2 separate regions of the Homo sapiens genome follow, and region 1 is linked to region 2. Evidence: promoter capture Hi-C in 16 types of primary human blood cells and fetal thymus (Javierre and others, 2016). All regions are on one chromosome and are shown on one strand. The core of a region is centred on a gene start or on the middle of the fragment in contact, and the rest is flanking DNA. Distances in the headings are between cores, read along the strand shown.

Region 1 (4,685 bases), core at 2,186-4,685, 320 kb after region 2:
GCGTGAGCCACTGCGCCTGGCCAAAATTTTTAAAATTAGCCAGATGCAGTCATTCACACCTATAGTCCCATTTACTCAGGAGGCTGAGCTGGGAGTTCGGAGCTGCAGTGAGCCATGATTGTGCCACTGCACTCTAGCCTGGGTGACAGAGTGAGACCCTGTCGTGAACAAAAAAACAAAACTAACACGTGTACTCTGAGTTTCCCATTCTTCCTTTTGCACAGAGCAATCCTCTGAGAAATGAAAGAAAAACCCTGTGTTCAGCCTTCCTGTTCCTGTGAGCACCGTCCTGTTTCTTTTTTATTGTTTACCGCCTGACTTCCCACACCTCTGTCACCTCCTTTATTCTGCCACTCCACTGCAGCCCGGCTTAGCGCTTCAGTCACCATCGAATAACTAACTCCACTCATTTTCCTGCTTTTTTGCAACACAGCCGACAGCCAAGGCCTGACTACTCTCTGCTTCCTGTAAATCTTATCATTGACTCCAAGATACTGTATTAATACACATAATCAGTTGTTTGTCTTTTTGAAGCTTCCATTTTCTTTCTAGACTTTTATTCAAATAAATCAACTCTTCATCATCACTTATTCCTCTCAATGTTTGTGACAGAAAAAATATATAAAATCCCATCAAGAGAGCTGTAGAACTCTCAAGAAAGTTCTACACCCGTAGTTCCAACTGCCAAACAAACATCTAACCATTGCAGATGTGTGCTCTGCAAATAATAACTCAGCATTGTGGTGGAGCAGGGGTCCCTTATTTTGTCTAAGGGCAGAGAAGCATGAACCGTTGCCACACATGGCATTATAGATAGCAACATGGATAGTTTTCTAGTAAATTTTATATTACCGTAGTCTATATTATAATATAGCAAAGCAGACACAGGCCTCAAAAACTTAAGGAACATTTATGGGAGAAAATCTTAACTGGGAATTCAACAGATGGGGAGAAGACCATCATTCTCAGTTTTTGAGGCAGAGCATCTCATTCCAACGAGAGGTGTGTACGTGCAGGAGCAAAACCTGAGACACCCGGGGAGGAGGGTATATGAGTGGGAGGCTGTATAATACACTTGGTTGCAATCCCAGATCCACCTCTTTCTATTTATGCAGCTCCAAGCAAATTACCTCATCTCTCTTTGCCTTGGTTTCCTCATCTATTAAATGGGGATTAGAAGAGACTGACTTCATAGAGTCGTTGTGCGAAAATGAGCCAGTGTATTGTAATGAGTCTAGAATTGTGCCTCTACCACAAAATAAGTCCTCAATAACTATTAGCTTACTACTCCCAGCGTCACCACCACCACTACCGCTACCTCTACTATTATTAAATGAGAGGGAAAGAACAACGAAAATACTGTTTAATTAGCAAAACTAAGAGGTAATGAGGGCCTGAATTAGGTGCCAGAACAAATGGACAGATTGCAGAGGTAACAGAGATAATGAGCCTATAGAATTTAGCATCTAATCCCCCAAGGATATGATTTAATTGGTCTGGGGTGCGGCTGGTATCTTAGTTTTTAAGCTCCCCAGGAGATTCCAAGGGGCAGCCAGAGTCGAGGATCATTGTTGTAATTGCAAATCACAAACCAGAGGCGGAGTGGAAGGAGGACCTAGAGACATCCCAGTTTACTCCATGCGGCTCTCCAGGCTAGACGTGTGAGCAGAACTTGAAGGTTTTTCGGAGGGAGTCACAGAGGTTTGGACACCGGCTTTTTTGTTAAAATACTTGAGATTATGAAATGTATTTTAGAGTCAGGAGTAAAATATTTAAGGTGAGGTTTGCCCTGGGAGTAGAGCAAGCGAAGGAAACAGCCTGCATACTTGCAGAGATTTAGTGAGTCATGTAGAAGCTGCCTAACAAGGAAGTATGTCTAAGCAAGTCACAACTGGGCCCGGGTGCGGGATGAAGTTAAGTGCTTAATAATTTGGACTTTACACCTTCAAAACAAGCTCTAAAGACTAACAGTAACATTGTATAAGCAACTATTTGTAAGATCCGATCAGTGTAATTTCATCACTTGCAGATTATTATCCAGACCCCTCACCATGGCCCCACATGCCAGGTGCCTGTCTTCCCTCCAGTGTCCCCCAGGAGCACTGTGTCCAGCCACGCAAAACACATATATGCCCCTCTAGAATATAAGCAACACGAAGACAGGAATCGCATCTGAGCGCCTGTTGTAATGCTCGGGAGCATTTGTTGAATGAATGGAAGAATGAATGGTCTGGTAAAAAGTTAATACCCCTTCTCTACCCACATTTACCCAAGATCCAACCCCTTTTTTCATTCAGAACTGTTTTTTAATTTTAAAAAATCTTTTTTTGAAACCGTAAAAGTAATGCATGCACTGTGTAGAACTCTTGGGAAAATGCCAGAAAGCACAGAAAAAGATCTATAATCCCACAACCCACAAACATTTTGTTAAATAGTATTTCAGTCTGGAGTGTGTGTGTGTGTGTGTGTGTGTGTGTGTGTATACTTATAACTTGCTCTCTGATGACCAAAATGCTTCCTGTCCAGGTAGATGCCTAATAAATTCTGCTGAGTTACAGGCAAATGGGGCCAGAGACCCAGAGACCAGGAGACAAATAATCCAGATAACTTGGAAATGGTTGCAGTTCTCCAAAACTTTAGAGTGACTTAATCCAGCTTTTTGGAAAATGGTCAGATATTCAGGGGTTTTTTAATGCAAATTTTAGCTGTTAGGCTGAGCATCCAGAATCAGAAAAGGGACCTAGAGAGTAAGGAGTTGAGGGATAGAGGAAGGTGTAGAGAAAAATCTAGATGAGGTTAGTGCAAAGGCAGAAATATCTACCACCTTTGAAACTTTGCCACCTCTCTCTTCCTGGTTGCCTTTTATTTAAACATTTTAAAAATAGATAGACATAGATGGTTTCCAGTTGTTTGTTTGTTTTGAGACAGTCTCACTGTTGCCCAGGCTGGAGTGCAGTGGCACAAACTCAGCTCACTGCAACCTCCACCTCCTGGGTTCAAGAGATTCTCCTGCCTCAGCCTCCCGAGTACCTGGGATTACAGGTATTCACCACCACGCCCAGCTAATTTTTTTGTATTTTTAGTAGAGACGGGGTTTCATCATGTTGGCTAGGCTGGTCTGGCACTCCTGGCCTCACGGGATCCGCGCACCTCAGCCTCCCAAAGTGCTGGGATTACAGGCACGAGCCACCACGCCTAGCCCAGTTTTTTTTTTTTTTTCTCCGAGACAGAGTCTCACTATGTCGCCCAGGCTGGAGTGCAGTGGTGCGATCTCAGCTCACTGCAACTTTCACACTCCGGGTTCAAGCAATTCTCCCTGCCTCAGCCTCCCAAGTAGCTGGGATTACAGGCGCCTGCCACCACACATGGCTAATTTTTGTATTTTTTTAGTAGAGACGGGGTTTCACCATGATAGCCAGGCTGGTCTTGAACTCCTGACCTCAGGTGATCTGCCCGCCTTGGCCTCCCAAAGTGCTGGAATTACAGGCGTGAGCCACCTCACCCGGCCCCAGTTTTTAAGCTAAAGTTAGCATCCTGTGCATATATTTGTATACGTGTGCGCTTTTCCCCCCATTTAAAAAAAATTAGAGTTAGGGTCTCGCTATGTTGCTCAGGCTGGCCTTGCACTCCTGGCCTCAAGTGATCCGCCTGCCTCAGTCTCCAAAAGTGCTAGGATTACAGGCATGAGCCATCATGCCCAACCTCCCCATTTTTAAGATATAATTTACATATAGTGAAATTCACATGAGTATATAGTTCTGTGAGTTTTGACAAACTTTTGCAGTCATACATGAGTTCACCACAATCAAGATATAGAACAGTTCTCCTAGTCAGCTTAGCTTGGTATGAAAAGTAAAAATAAAAAAGATATAGGACAGTTCTGTGTTAGGGTTCTCCAGGGAAACAGAACCAAGGTGATGTATGTATATATAGCGAGTGAGTGAGTGAGTGTGAATGTGTAGAGGGAGAAAGATTTAAGAGGGTAAGCTGGCAGGCTGGAGACTGGCAGGGAAGAGTTACAGTCTAAGTCTAAAGGCAGTCTGCTAGCAGAGTTCTATTCAATTTAATGCTCAAGAATAATCCTCTTTGGCACCATTCATTCTCTGTCCTTCCAGCCCACCAGGATGGGAGCTGGGAGCTGTGCCCCTGAGGCCCTGGGCGGCAGCCACACCTTGTGAATCCCCTCTTGGGGTCATTCTTCCCTCTTCTTGAAAGATAACAAATGTTTGCAGCCACATCACTGTAGCCCATTCTGTAGAAGTCTGACAGCCTTCCTTCCCTTTGTCCTGTCTTTGTCCATTTTAATCCAAAAGGGCAGTATTTCTGCTGAGGTGGTTGGTTGAATCCATGCTTCACAGCCCCAGTCTCATTATCTGATCGTCCAGCCACACCATTGGTGTTCTCTTAGGAACACACCTTCTCATTTTTTTGCAATGAGGCTAGGCTGAGAATTTTCTAAATTTTCAAGTTCTGGTTCCTTTTTGCTTAACAATAATTTACTTCTCACATTTTACTACAAGCAGTAAGGAGAAACCAAGCCACACCTTCAGCACTTTGCTTAGAAATAACTTGTGCTGAATATCTAAATTCATCACTCACAAGTTCTACCTTTCACAAAACACTACAAAATAACTCAGCCATGTTTCTTCCCACTTTGTAACAAGAATCGCCTTTCCACTAGTTCC
Region 2 (4,709 bases), core at 2,087-4,586:
CTGGGGGACAAGAGCGAGACTTCATCTAAAAAAAAAAAAAAAAAAAAAAACCACCCTTTTAGGTGTATAGTTCTATGAGTTTTGACAGATTCACAGAGTCATCCAGTAATGTAAATACCACAATCAAGTTAGAGAATATTCTCATCATCTCAAAAAGTGTGATCAGTCCACCCTTCCCCAGCTCCAGTTGCCAGTAACCATTGATCTAATTTCTGTCCCTATACTTTAATTTTTTACTTTGAAATAATCATTTACCCATAGGTAGTTGCAAAGAGGGCCCAGGTACACTTTCTCAAATGGGAACATCTTACAAAGCTATGGAAAAATATCAAAAGCCAGGAAACTGACATTGGTACAATACTATCAAGTAGACTACAGACCTTATTCAGATTTCACCAGTGCTTACATCCATTAGCTTATTTGAAAAAACATAATTGGGCCATAGTATGAAAGAAGGGTCAGCCTAGCAAAAACACGCATTAGTTACAGTTGTCCACAGAAGAAAGGAGAACTCAGGAGGGTGCAGAGAGAGGAAGGGACTGGAGGAAAACATTTCTGGAGTGGAACAAAAATCATTTGGTAGACAATTTGGTATAAGGATTTAAATTAATCCTTCTTGATCTTCTTTTCTTTTTTGAGACAGAGTGTCACACTGTCACTCAGACTAGGATGTGGTGGTACAATCACGGCTCACTGCAGACTCGACCTCCTGGGCTCAAGCAATCCTCCCACCTCAGCCTCCTGAGTATTTGGGACCAAAGGCGGATGCCACCACGCCCAGCTAATTTTTTTTTTTTTTTTGAGACGGAGTCTCACTCTGTCATCCAGGCTGGAATGCTCCCAGGTTCAAGCAGTTCTCTGCCTCAGCCTCCCAAGTAGCTGGGATTACAGGCGCGTGCCACCACATCAGGCTAATTTTTGTATTTTTAGTAGAGATGGGGTTTCACCATCTTGGCCAGGCTGATCTTGAACTCCTGACCTCGTGATCCACCTGCCTCGGCCTCCCAAAGTGCTGGGATTACAGGTATGAGCCACTGCTCCTGGCCGCTAATTTTTATATTTTCCGTAGAGATAGGGTTTCGCCCAGGCTGGAAATTAATCCTTTTTTTGGAAATGAAATTTCCCATATGGCAGGGCAGCAAGCAAAAGGTTGTTTTAAATTGAACAGCCTGACCGCTAAGTGAATGAAGGTCATGAAAACCCCAAATAACCATAATATTTCTGCTTACTCTTATTTAAAGAGGAAAAAAAATGGTTTAGTTACTCTCTCCTTACTCTTGCCTGACTGAAAAAAATGAAGTAACTGTCGAAAACAAAGTTATCTGTTTAGTTAGCTAACCCTCTGCAAAACCAAGCAAATGAAATCTCTATATTTACTCTTAGTCCCTCCTGCAGTTCAGTACTGTTGTAGGCTTTCCTATCTGCTCCACCATTTTATCAGACTACAGCACTGATAATGCCTTAATCTCTATACAATTTATTTATAGACATCACTTACCCATCAGGAGACAATGGGATCAGCGTTGTTCTCCCCATTTTTACAGCCCAAGAAATTGAGGCTCCTGATACCCAGGATCACATATGCCAACACCGTAAAATGCTCAGAAAGGCATCGACACAGAGCTTTACTTAATACCCTTCTTTCTACTCCACCACACCCCATTTACGGCCAGGTTGGATCTCTTTCTACAAGAGAAATGGAATAAATTTGTGCAGGAGCTCCATACAGGCAATAAAAATATCTCTGGTGACAAAGTCCTCATTTAAACTCCAGTTTGTTTATCACTAGTTACTACCAAATACAGTCCCTTGGGAGTTCTGAGTGACCCAAAACCTACTTCCTGGACTTCAAGATGAGCTTTTAGTTTCTTTGAAATCAGGAAGTGTCTTAAAACCAGATTCAATGAAATACGGTAACAATCTTTTTACTGTGTCCTGTGCTAGGTATTTTATATGCATTTTAGCACTTAACCTCCAAACCTCTTATTATTAAACCTCTGTTGTTACGTCCATTTTAAAGATAGAAAAGTCAGGGCACAGAGAGGTTTAGAGATCACACAGCCAGCAAATGGTGGACAGTATAAGAGTAACCTCAAAGCAAGCAGTACCCCAGATTCCAATTTCAGTTGACTTAGCCTGGTAACAGTTCAATTTTATGCAAAACCCACAACTTCAAATGGAAAAAGATAAATTAAAACAACCACAAAAACCAGACAAATGGAGGCTCAGCAGGCCTTGTAGCTCATCCACGGTTACACAGAGGATCTCAGAGCCAAAATTCCATGGCCGATCCGTCTTGACTTCAAAGCGCGATCTATTTCCACCAAACCACGGAACCATCGACACGTGGTAAGGGGCAGTACAAAGATTTGTTGAATTAATAATGCCTGAAAACAAATTGACAATAAGAAGGTAAAAATGGAAAACACAGATAAAATCGGAAAAGCAGACCACTTTCAGGAAACAAAAAACTCCAAATTTTCAAGGCAGGGCATTCACGGTGAGCCAAGGCGCTGGGACAAAGTTTGCGCGGGTACCGCCGGACTCCCGGGCTGCCCGGCGCGGAGTCTTTAACGGAGATGGTTCGCAAGGAATCGGCCTCGGAGCCCGGCAGCCTCCTGGCTTCCCTCCTGACCACCAGTAACCCGGCCGGGAAACACTGGCGAAGACCGGGGGCCAGTCGCCTTCCCTTTCTGGGCTGTTGGCTTAAAATACACACAAACACAAGTCCCCAGGCGGTCCGCGGCCTCTCAGTGGGGCTGGAGCTCGCTGCCCGAGGCCCGCCCGGAAGCCATGCACCTGCGGACAGGAGTCTCTCCGAGTCGCAGCTCGCCGCCGAGAAGCACCCACCTCCCGCGGCCGGCGCAGCCCAAGGCCCTGGCCCCTATAGCCCGGCCTAGGCCCGCCCCAGGCGGGGCTAGGGGCGGCGTGGCGGGCGGGCGCCCCTCGGGCCGCGCCGGTGAGCAGCGGGAGCCGGCGCCGGGCATTTCCTCTTCCTCCCTACGCGCGGCGCGGCGGCGGCGGCGGCGGCCAGGCCGAGGCTGGGCACGGGCGCCCGATCGCGGCCTGCTGGCTAGCGCGGGCAAGCGCCGCGCCCCGAGCCGCCGTCGCCGCGTCGCCCCCGTCGCGACCGCCGGCCGCGGGGCCTCCGGGCGGCTGGGCCCGGCGAGGGCAGCGAGAGGCGGGGCTGGCGTGCGGGCGGCGGAAGGAGGCGGAGGAGGAGGAAGAGGAGGAGGAGGAGGCGGCGGCCGGGAGCCGGGGGAGAGGGGCGGGGGGTGGGCCGGGGGAGGGGAGGAGCGGGATTTGCGGAGCGCCGCGCCGCTGCCGGGAGCCGGCAGGCCCGAGAGTGACCGGAGTCACGGCGGGCGCCGGCGGAGCTGCGGCGTCGGACCCGCCTCCTGGAGGAGCTCAGCCCCGACCAGGCCCGGCCCCATTCCCGCCCCGCGCCGCCTCCCCGCCGCCGCCGCCGCCGCCGCCGCGGGAGCGCTCCCCTGCCCACCCCGCCCCCGCGGCCGAGCCCGGGAGTCGAGTGGGAGTCGGCCGGCCGGCGCGGGCAGCGCCGGGACCCCGCGGGGGACACTGCAGCCGGAGCCCGGGAGGGGCCGCGCCGCCACCGTCTGAACTAGGATGTCCCGACATGAAGGTGAGAGGAGCCCCCGCCCCCACCCGCACCTCCCGGGCCTCGGCCTACCCCGCCCGGGCCGGGCGCGGCGGAGGGCGGCCGGGAAGCGGCGGAGACTTTGGCCGAGCCCGAGCCGGGCCCGAGGCGCTGGACCCGGGAGCGAGCGAGCGAGGGCGGAGAGCCGCGGCGCCGCTGCCGCCACGGCCGCGGCCCTTAGCTGGGCCTGGTGCTGGAGGCGGGGCGGCCCGGGCGGCCGGAGGGTTTGCACTGTCATGGGGCGGAGGGGGAGGGGAGGCGGCGGGGCCCGTTACCGGCGGGAGCTCGGCCTTCGGGACTGATACCGGACGCCAAGGCCCGCCCGGCCGGTTCAGGAGCCGCGGGCCCCAGCGCGGCCTAGCGCTCCCGCCGCCCCGGAAGAGCCCGGTGTGGTCGCAGAGCCGGGCCGCGGGCGGCAGCAGGAGGCAAAAGAGCCGGCCCGGGACCCGGCAGGCGCGTCCGGTCGCCGGGAGACGACGGCGAGTGTCCCCGCCTGCGGGCGACCGCGGGGCTGGCGGGAAGGCTCTGCGGCCAAGGGACGGGAAGCCCTCGCCGCCTGGAGCCCGCCCCGGCCTCGCGGCTAGGCCTCGGCGCGTCCCTGGGCTCGGGTAACCAAGTTCCCGGGGTGGATCCGACCCCGCCGCAGCAAGCAAACTCCCTGCTCAGTCACCCAGGCGGAGCAGGGCTCGCTCCCCGCGGCCCTGGTGCCCTCGCCGGCATGTGCTGCCTACCAGACCAGGTTTTGGAAAATGACGATGGTGAGGTCTGTTCATGGTCGGGGGTCGTTTTGGACCTTGTTTTGCCATTTTAAAACACGATTGGAGTACAGTTGCAAATAAGCAGACAGCTCTAAGCCCAGTCCCAGGGCACAAAGAGACAAATGTTTAGGGTCGATGTATAGGCTTTGAGCTGGTAAGAAATAAGTTAACTTTAATTTATTGCCATATGGTTTAGAAAAGGAGGAGGGGGTTGTGTTTTCTTTGTTTCACTACTACAGGTTTTTGGATAAAAAGTGTTAAGAGTCTTGGCGAAAAGTTTGTCCTGCTAAGGT

What was found. The method cuts DNA at HindIII sites, captures the fragments that hold promoters and counts their contacts. A CHiCAGO score of 5 or more calls a contact.
Region 1: a fragment that was not itself captured here is called in contact with the fragment with the promoter of KCMF1 in region 2 in 5 of 17 cell types (M1 macrophages, M2 macrophages, M0 macrophages and 2 more); the score reaches 10.6 in M1 macrophages.

What each region holds. Positions count from the first base shown.
Region 1 is chr2:85,286,773-85,291,457 of GRCh38, forward strand. All of the region lies in intron 4 of TCF7L1 (transcription factor 7 like 1), which reads left to right. Among named protein-coding and RNA genes, the nearest start is that of TGOLN2, 39 kb to the right of the region's middle. RefSeq lists an enhancer at 3,178-3,678. The HindIII fragment of the contact is 5,806 bases long and covers 533-4,685 here.
Region 2 is chr2:84,967,825-84,972,533 of GRCh38, forward strand. It overlaps KCMF1 (potassium channel modulatory factor 1), which reads left to right and starts at 3,337. Exons shown (of 7, transcript NM_020122.5): 1 at 3,337-3,643. The coding sequence starts at 3,628. RefSeq lists an enhancer at 2,264-2,343 and silencers at 2,842-3,091, 3,122-4,211. The HindIII fragment of the contact is 10,310 bases long and covers 1-4,709 here.